2 separate regions of the Homo sapiens genome follow, and region 2 is linked to region 1. Evidence: promoter capture Hi-C in 16 types of primary human blood cells and fetal thymus (Javierre and others, 2016). All regions are on one chromosome and are shown on one strand. Each heading gives the region's core, a stretch centred on a gene start or on the middle of the fragment in contact. The rest is flanking DNA. Distances are from core to core; before and after follow the strand shown. Region 1 holds the start of LINC02453 (long intergenic non-protein coding RNA 2453). Region 2 overlaps ANKS1B (ankyrin repeat and sterile alpha motif domain containing 1B).

Region 1 (4,457 bases), core at 362-2,861:
GCGTGTTTGTGGGCACCTGTAATCCCAGCTACTCGGGAGGCTGAGACAGGAGAATCGCTTGAACCCGGGGGACGGAGGTGGTAGTGAGCCAAGATCGCACCACTGCACTCCAGCCTGGGCAACAAGAGTGAAACTCCGTCTCAAAAAAAAAAGTTTACATATAAGGCTCTCTTAGTATCCCTGGGAAGAGGGTTCATCCTGTCTATGAACGGGTTTAGGATGACACAAATTATCAAATTATCCGATTAGTGCACTTTCCTAACCCATATGTTTAATCAGTGGCACATCCTGGTTTTGAATTATTTAAACGCATTATTATTTAGCCATTCACATACTTACGTTTGTCACTTCCAGTTAAACTGTAGCCACCTACAGAGAGCGAAACAGAAGTCGGCTGATAAAATTTTGATAAAATTTCATTTGCCCGCAGCTGGTCATTTCATTGGGCGCTTTTGTGTTACAAAAGTGTGTGAATTGGCCGGGCGCGGTGGCTCACGCCTGTAAATCCCAGCACTTTGGGAGGCCGAGGCAGGTGGATCACTAAAGGTCACGAGTTCGAGACCAGTCTGGCCAACATGGTGAACCCTCCCCCCCCCCACACACACACACACACCCCGCGTCTCTAGTAAAATACAAAAATTAGCCAGGCATGGTGGTGCGCGCCTGTAATCCCAGCCACTCGAGAGGCTGAGGCGGGAGAATCACTTGAGCCTTGGAGGTGGAGGTTGTAGTGAGCCCAGATCGCAACACTGCACTCCAGCCTAGGGGACAGAGCGAGACTTCCTCTCAAAAAAAAAAGACTTATGAATTGTTTGAAGAGGCACGAGACCGTGGCAACCCTAACTGTCCCCGACATCTGGCAGCCATATGCTATCCTTGAACTTGAACTTCAGAGTGAAAGTATAAATTTGTAAGGGGAAGGCTCAGCCGCAAGTCACATACCAGTGGTCAGTTAAAAAAAAAAAACTCAGGACGGCAACCTAAATCATTTAGAACGCGTCAAGAGCCTCGGAAAAACTATTTTCACACACTTCTCTAGCACTAACATGGGAAGCGCGTTTCCTTCACATATTCCACACCTTTTATTCTTCCCACCAACATCAAGAATACAAAGCGCCCAGAGAGGACAATAAGCCTAAGCAGCGGCTCCAAGAGACCGGACTTTCGTACTTCCCGGGGGCAGGCGGAAGGTTACGGAGCGCTGGAAGGATCTTACTGCTCCTTGAAGGGCTGTCTGAGAAAATACACAGCCTAACGACTCCTCGTTAGTATAGTGGTTAGTATCCCCGCCTGTCACGCGGGAGACCGGGGTTCAATTCCCCGACGGGGAGGTGTGTAGCTGCACTTTTTTGGCGACAGTTATTATTTTCTGTATCATTCAATGACAGGACACTGCTGTTAAACATAATATGCTAAACCAGCTCCCTTAAGTGCACAACCCTGTCTTCAAAATGGTGACTTTTAACCTTAATGCCCACCATGAAGTGAAAGCCTCCCCTGAGAGAAAATGCCTTACATTGTTTGCAGGAAGGGAGGAAAGGGAAAAAGAAAACGCTCTGAAGGCCTCTGCCCTTGCCTCCAGCCGCCATCTTGCGAAGGCCTGCGCCGGCTTAGTGGCGCCCCGCCAGATTACAACTCGAGGTCGCGAACTCAGCGCGCGGAACCTGTTGGGGGAGGGGAGAGAGGGCGGAGTCTCGCGACTAACGGGGCGGGGGCAGGGCGGGTAAGAACGGAAATCATTTGGTAAAGAAAAGGAAGGGCCAATTTCCTTTGATCCTGGAGACCCGACTAAACGGGAAGCCCCGTTCTCCCGCTTCCGCTGGTTACGTCCCAGCCTTGGTTAGAGGACTAGCAGTCAGGAAAGTTTGGACGCTGAAGGAATCGGTCTCCTGGTCCGACAGATACTGGGTGGAGGGGCAGAGAGTAAATGGAAGAGAAAGACTGGTACCCCTGGAAGAAACGCCATTTACTGGTGTCCTAAGAAACTGCGCGAGCCACAGCCCAGCAGGACCTCGTGGCGCAACGGTAGCGCGTCTGACTCCAGATCAGAAGGCTGCGTGTTCGAATCACGTCGGGGTCAAACTTTTTTTTTTTCCTCCTGTATTTTAAACTACCGACTACTAGAAGCCGAGGTGTATTCCTGCCGCCAATTTTCTTGAATGTTAGAATTAAGTTTTCCTCTTTCAGGTATTATGATACTAATCCTTGGTTTGCAGGAAGATATGATTTACTCTATATCGAAGAGCCTCAAGGCTGATGTTTTTATCATTTGGCCTTTTAAAGTGAGTTTTTTTGTCACTTAACATGCATAATGTGTAAAGAGGTGGACTATTACTGCTGTGCATTAGTGGGTGTATCAGTCCACTAGTCTATCACAGGAAGTGTACAATATACTGTACAAGCTGTTTTTTCCAAACAGTTTTAGGCTGTTTGCCTTTTGAAAGAGAGTACAATAGTGTACAATTTCTAATTTTGAATATTATGCTAATCAAGTGTCTTAGCCCTTACCATGTGCCAACACTGTGAACAACCTCACAATGTGTGACTATTATCCCACTTTTACAAATGTGGCTGTGGCTCACAGGGTTAGTGACCTGCCAAGGGTCACCCAAGATTCTGAACCAGGTGAGGGACTCTGGATCCCTCTTTATAAATACTTTATAATAAAGGTGGAAACAAACAGTTGAAAGAATGTGTGACTGCCAGGCTCAGTGGCTTACACCTGTAATCCTAGCACTTTGGAAGGCCAAAGTGGGTGGATCACGAGGTCAGGAGTTCAAGACCAGCCTGACCAACATGGTGAAACCCCATTTCTACTGAAAATACAAAAATTAGCTGGGCATGGTGGGGTGCACCTGTAATCCCAGCTACTCCGGAGGCTGAGGCAGAAGAATTGATTGAACCCGGGAGGCGGAGGTTGCAGTGAGCCTGGGTGACCAAGCAAGACTCCTTCTGGAGGTGGGTGGCGGGGAGGAATGTGGGAAAAGCTGTTGGACTGGGCGCCTTTTATGTTTTCACCGATTATGCGAGTGATGACTAGTCACCACTTTTGACTATTAATCTCTTTAATAGCAGGAAGCAAAGCTTGCTCGTTCACATTTGCAAGCTCCAGGACTCTTAGTACTAAATAGTGCCCTACACGTAAGTGTCAAATATTTGTTGAACAGAAAATGAATAGCAAGACTATGAGAAATTAATAGTTTTAGATTTTGATGATATGTTTTGTAAAATTCCTGAGGTTTTCTGCTTAGTATTTTGAAAATACCAAACACTAATTTCTTTTGATTCAACCTAATGTAGCAGTATACCTGGAAATTATATTTGCACATGGTGTGGTTTGTTCTTCCCTCTCCTGTTTGGATTAAAATTAGATCATCCATTTCAACGGGTATTTATGGACTGTCAACTCTGATGAGCCTGATACTGTGCTAAGTACTAAGGATGAGGATACACTGAGTAAAAATGGGTTTTTTTGAGCATCAGGAGACAGATATGTTAAGCCACCAAACGCCATAATGTGTTGGGGTAAGTTCATGTTACTTGGTAAGAACCATGAAAGTAACATGAACAGAGTGGTATGGGGGTGCTAAAACAGTGGACAGTAACTCCACATTGGGTTGTATGAGGCTATAACAAGGTGATACAACCTCTCCATCTACATCACAAAAATATGGTTTTGTCCAAATGAGTTAACATGATTGGTCCAAGCTACGATATATGCAGTATATGCAAATGATGCCAGAGGGAAGAAATGGCTTCTGTTATGGGCTGAATTTTTTTTTTTTTTTTTTTTTTGAGATGGAGTCTCACCCTGTCGCCCAAGCTGGAATGCAGTGGCAACCTCCGCCTCCCAGGTTCAAACGATTCAGCCTCCCAAGTAGCTGGGATTACAAGTGCACCCCACTACACCCAGCTATTTTTTTGTTTGTTTGTTTGTTATCTTTAGTAGAGACAAGGTTTCACCATGTTGGCCAGGCTGGTCTTGAACTCCTGACCTCATGATCCACCTGCGTCAGCCTCCCAAAGTGCTGGGATTACAGGCGTGAGCCACCACACCCAGTTTATGGGCTGAATTTCATCTCCCCAACATTCATATGTTGAAGCCCTCACTCCTAGTACCTCAGAATGATCGTAAGACCTGATTAAGTACGCTAGGTGCAGTGGCTCACGCCTGTAATCCCAGCACTTTGGGAGGCCAAGGCAGGTGGATCACAAGATCAGGAGTTGGAGACCAGCCTTGCCAACATGGTGAAACCCTGTCTCTACTGGAAATAGAAAAATTAGCTGGGCGCGGTGGCGGGTGCCTATAATTCCAGCTACTCGGGAGGCTGAGGCAGGAGAATTGCTTGAACCCGGGAGGCAGAGGTTGCAGTGAGCCGAGATCGCACCACTGCACTCTAGCCTAGGTGACAGAGCAAGACTCTCTTTTAAAAAAAAAAAAAAAAAGACATTATTAA
Region 2 (4,684 bases), core at 2,098-4,597, 260 kb after region 1:
TTTAGTTTTACTTTTATTACCTCACGTCTCTCGAATGCTGTAACCTGGCCTGTCTCCGACCTTGGCTCTTCCTGTCTCATATAAGCTCATTGGAAGATACTTGCTTTGGTCTTTCTAGCATAAGTCTTTTGAGACACATTTATTACGGCGATTGGTCTGGAGTATTGTCTACCTTACAGAGACCACCAGTGAAAGAGAGCTGCATGTGTGTGCATGTGTGCACGTGTGTGTGTGTGTGTGTGTGCACACGGGGTGCAGGTGTGAGGGTTGATTACTGAAAACAGCATACTCTGAGCCTTGGTTTTCTCATCTTAAAATGGGGATAATACCATACGCAGTACCCCCTAACTGGATTGTTCTGATAATGGCTAATAATATTATTTAACCAAATGGCAATACCGGCTAGCATTTATTATTTACTATGTGGCCATGCACCATGCTAAGTGCTTCAACATGGGCTCTTTAATTCAATCCTAACCGTATCTGTATGCCGTAGGTCTATTACTTCCATTTTGCACATGAGATAATTACGCTCAGAAAGGTTAAATAACTTGCTCATGAAGTCAGCACCCAGACAAACTGGGATTTGAATCCAGTTGTTCTTTCTGAGAGGCTATACTCTTCTTGACCATTACACCTTAAAACTATACATAAGATAAAATAAAAAAAATTCTGTAATCTGTTTTAAAAAGTTTAAAAAACATGTGAGCCAATTGAGCTTCCAAGTGACTGACCCATCTTGGCTGTGGTGAGGTCACCTACTGGCCCATTGCCTGGGTCTCATGCCCAGTCTGGCTGAGAGGCAGCCTCCAGGCCGGGGGTGTACTTCGTGACTCCACAGAGACCATCAACACAGGAATTCTTCATCTTTGGCTTCCCCAAGGGTGAGGTAAAAGATACGAGGCAACTCCCATCCTCAGTAGTGGCTATTTAGGAAGAAGGGTAGGGAGTCCCAGTCCAATGGGGAAAAACCTCCTGGAAAGCACAGGAATTCCCCTCTTCCCTTCCCTTCTCTTCTCTTCTTCCCCAGGGATTTTTCTTTTTTCTTTTCTTTTCTTTTCCTTCCTTTTTTTTTTTTTTTTTTGAGATAGGGTCTCACTCTCTTACCTAGGCTGGAGTGCAGTGGTGTGATCTCAGCTTACTGCCATCTCCACCTCCCGGGTTCAAGTGATTCTCCTGCCTCAGCCTCCTGAGTGGCTGGGATTATAGGCGTGCACGCCTGGCTAATTTTTTTTTTTTTTTTTATGGCAGAGATGGGGTTTCACTGTGTTGGCCAGGCTGGTCTCGAGCTCCTGGCCTCAAGTGATCCTCCTGCCTGGGCCTCCCAAAGTGCTAGAATTATAGGCATGAACCACTGTGCCCGGCCTGGGATTTTGATCTGCGAATTAAGAACTGCTACATTAGAGGAGCTTAAGGAACCACTGTATCATAAAGATAAATCCTAAGGCAATCAAGGGATGCAAACTCACTTTTCTTGTGCAAGCTGAAGATATGCAGGTCAGCTTATATTTACTGTGGTTTCTTCAAGGCAATCATGGATATTGAACATCACCACAGATATTTACCAAGCTCCTTCCAAGTGTTAAGGGCTGTGTCCCTGGTGCCAGTCCCATGCCTAGCCTATAGACAATGTCCAGGAAGTGATCACTGAATGACATGGGGGAGTAAAAGTGTCCATCAAGACTCTCATTACATCCAGAGGAGGCTCATGGAGAGACAAAGAGATCTTCCTCGCTGTCCTCCCGCATCCTTGTCCCCGAGGCTATACGCAGCATATTCATCGGTCTAGTATGAGAAAAATTGCATCATAGATGGTGGGCAATCTGTCCCCTAGAAAAAGCTCTAGCCACCAAGGTAATTAATTTATTTTAACTGGTACATCACTAAGATTTTTGTTTCTTAGTTTGAAAATCTCTTAGGCACAAGGGTTCACTGATACATGTGCAAAAATATTCATTAAAGTGTTTAAATTTTTCATTATTAGAGGACTGATTAAGTAGAATACTAGGTAGCCATTTAACATGAAAACTGGAGGCGGGTGGATTGCCTGAGCTCAGGAGTTCAAGACCACCCCGGGCAACATGGTGAAACGCTGTCTCTACTAAAATACAAAAAATTAGCTGGGCGTGGTGGTGCACATCTGTAATCCCAGCTACTCGGGGGGCTGAGGCAGGAGACTCGCTTGAGCCCAGGAGGTGAAGATTGCAATGAGCCGAGGTCGCACCACTGCATTCCAGCCTGGGTGACAGAGTGAGACTCCGTCTAAAAATAAATAAATAAAATAAATAAATCAATAATGGGTTAAAAGACTACGTAAAAATATATGTATACATATACACATAGATAGGATCTGTATATATGCATAGAAAATAGCAATATGGATCAAATGTGAATAGTAGTTATCACTGCGTATTGAGACTGGATGATTTCTATTTTTGTATTTTGGAACTTTATTTAAATGAGGATTAATGATGTTTACAGTCATAAAATAATCTTTCCATTTTGATAATTAAAAACAAGAGAAAGTCTTTTGCGTTTAAAATAGTCTTATTCTTGCTTTTTTTTTTTGAGACAGGGTCTTGCTCTGTTGTCCAGGCTGGAGTGCAGTGGCACAGTCATGGCTCACAGAAAGCTTGACCTCCCAGGCTCACATGATCCTCTCACCTCAGCCTCTGGAGTAGCTGGGACCACAGGTAATGTGTCATCACACCTGGCTGATTTTTGTATGTTTTTTAGAGACAGGGTTTCAACATGTTGCCCAGGATGGATCTTATTCTTTCTGCATCACCTTGGGGTTCTGAGGGTCTCTTCATTCTCTGGCTGAGAGGGCTGGGAACTACTTTCCAGCAAAATCTGGAACCTCTCTGCAGGTGCTGTCATGGCTCACCTCTATGTGCCAGGAAGCTGCCCATTCATTTGGCAAAGAATCTTGTTTAGGCTCTTCAGTTTTCATACTGGATGCCAATTCTAACATCTTCTCAGTGAGACTTTGAAGTATCAAGCTCTTCCTTTAAGCTGCAACCCTAATACTTCTACTCCAAGTGCGGAATTGACCCTTTAATGGTCCAACTTCTGCCAAGCCCAAGTGAAAAATGTTGTTACGTGGATATTAACTTATAGACATGCAGTCAATCCGCTCTTGTAGCTGTGCAAAGTTTGATCTCTGCACGAAGTCAAACTGCCTATGAACTTGAACTGTATTTTATTTCCTTTCATAATGATGATAAAGCAGTGGCAGCAGCAACTACACATGATATTGCCTACTACATCCTAGGGACGAGGCTAAGTGCCTTCTGTGGATTGTCTACCCCTTACAACACCTTACAGAGGAGGAATGACCATCCTCATTTTACGTGTGAGAAACTAAGGATCAGCGAAATTGACAACTTGGCCAAGTTCATACAGCAGAGCCAGGATTCAAGTGCAGATCTGACTTCAGATTAGCCAGTGTTTCATGCCACTGGGCTATCCTACCTTCATTGCTCTCATGAATGTGCTGGTCTTCTGTGCCTATTTCATTGAGGCACCCTCTAGAACACCATCTTGTGTTTTGGAGATTCACTGTACAAATGTTGGTGAAGACATTATTACACAGTATCCCCTCATGGGGGCCTAGGACAGAAAGTTCCTTCATACTTAAGTCTTATTAAAATACTATTTTCGGAAGGGAAGGGGTATACTTTTCTTTCAAAGAAATATGCAGCATAAAATTACTGCATTTCCCTTTTTGCCTTGACCTCCAGGAAGCTCAGAGCTAAAAGCTCAGAGCTAGAGAGAGCCCAGCTCCCATACCTTTCCACAACTCCATGGTCTGTATATTGATGCTACAACTTTTCCCTTGATATGGAGCTTCCTTTTAGCCTATATTTTCCCTAATTCAGATTTGTGTGTATGTATATATATATTTTCAGACTACTATACCTATTCATGTAGGCTGTCTTCAATCCGTTATGGAATGAGGCATGGTAGAAACACTGTCCATTTGTTCACTTAGATATTTATTCCAGGACTTACTTTGTTGAATGCATTGCTGCCCAAATGGCTGACAAGGTATGTCAGGCATAAAGCTTCATCTCATCTGGCGAATATGACGAAGGAGTAAGGAATCTGAGGAGGAGGCCATCCAGGGAGGAAAGGCCCTCCTGACCCAGGCTGGGAGGCTGCTCTTTCTGAGTGGACCATTTTGACCTGCCTTGCAGTGCTTTGCATTACCATTAGAAACACAATGGCCACATTTTCATGACTGGAATGGAATGAACAAATGTATTCATTCCATAGCATCAGAGAGCTGCAGGCCCAGACAGGGGTCAGCAGAAGCTCACCCACACCATGAAGAGGGCACAGATGCAGACACGTTCAAGGGAAGGGCTGTGTCTGTATGTGGGAGTCCAGGGCAGAAAAGCTTGGGTGTCATAAAGTACCTTGAGATGTCTGATTGAAAAGTGTCTATCAGTGAATAGAGGCCATAAACAGAGTCCCTGGATCACCTGCATAGGCCAGCTCCACCATGGGCTACCTACCTACAGCACCTATTGCCACTGAGAAGTGGGTGTGGTCCAGGTGACCTATTGGTCCCTTTCCACCCTGGGAGTTTCAGGATTCTCTGATTAGAAGGGGCTATCTTTTACCCAGTCAACTACAGATTCAGTTTAGAGATGCACGCACAGTTGATGCTGTGCTAAAC

What was found. Contacts are between HindIII fragments. The CHiCAGO score rates a contact against its expected background, and 5 or more counts as called.
Region 2: a contact is called between a fragment that was not itself captured here and the fragment with the promoter of LINC02453 in region 1, in 1 of 17 cell types (neutrophils). The highest score is 9.2, in neutrophils.

Annotation. Positions count from the first base shown.
Region 1 is chr12:98,502,244-98,506,700 of GRCh38, forward strand. LINC02453 (long intergenic non-protein coding RNA 2453) reads right to left here and starts at 1,612. Exons shown (of 4, transcript NR_038383.1): 1 at 1,517-1,612; 2 at 340-369. TRD-GTC1-1 (tRNA-Asp (anticodon GTC) 1-1) reads left to right here and starts at 1,260; the gene lies at 1,260-1,331. It overlaps TRW-CCA4-1 (tRNA-Trp (anticodon CCA) 4-1), which reads left to right and starts at 2,009; the gene lies at 2,009-2,080. RefSeq lists enhancers at 1,350-1,659, 1,670-1,969. The HindIII fragment of the contact is 12,452 bases long and covers 1-3,082 here.
Region 2 is chr12:98,757,715-98,762,398 of GRCh38, forward strand. All of the region lies in intron 25 of ANKS1B (ankyrin repeat and sterile alpha motif domain containing 1B), which reads right to left. Among named protein-coding and RNA genes, the nearest start is that of APAF1, 110 kb to the left of the region's middle. The HindIII fragment of the contact is 1,435 bases long and covers 2,631-4,065 here.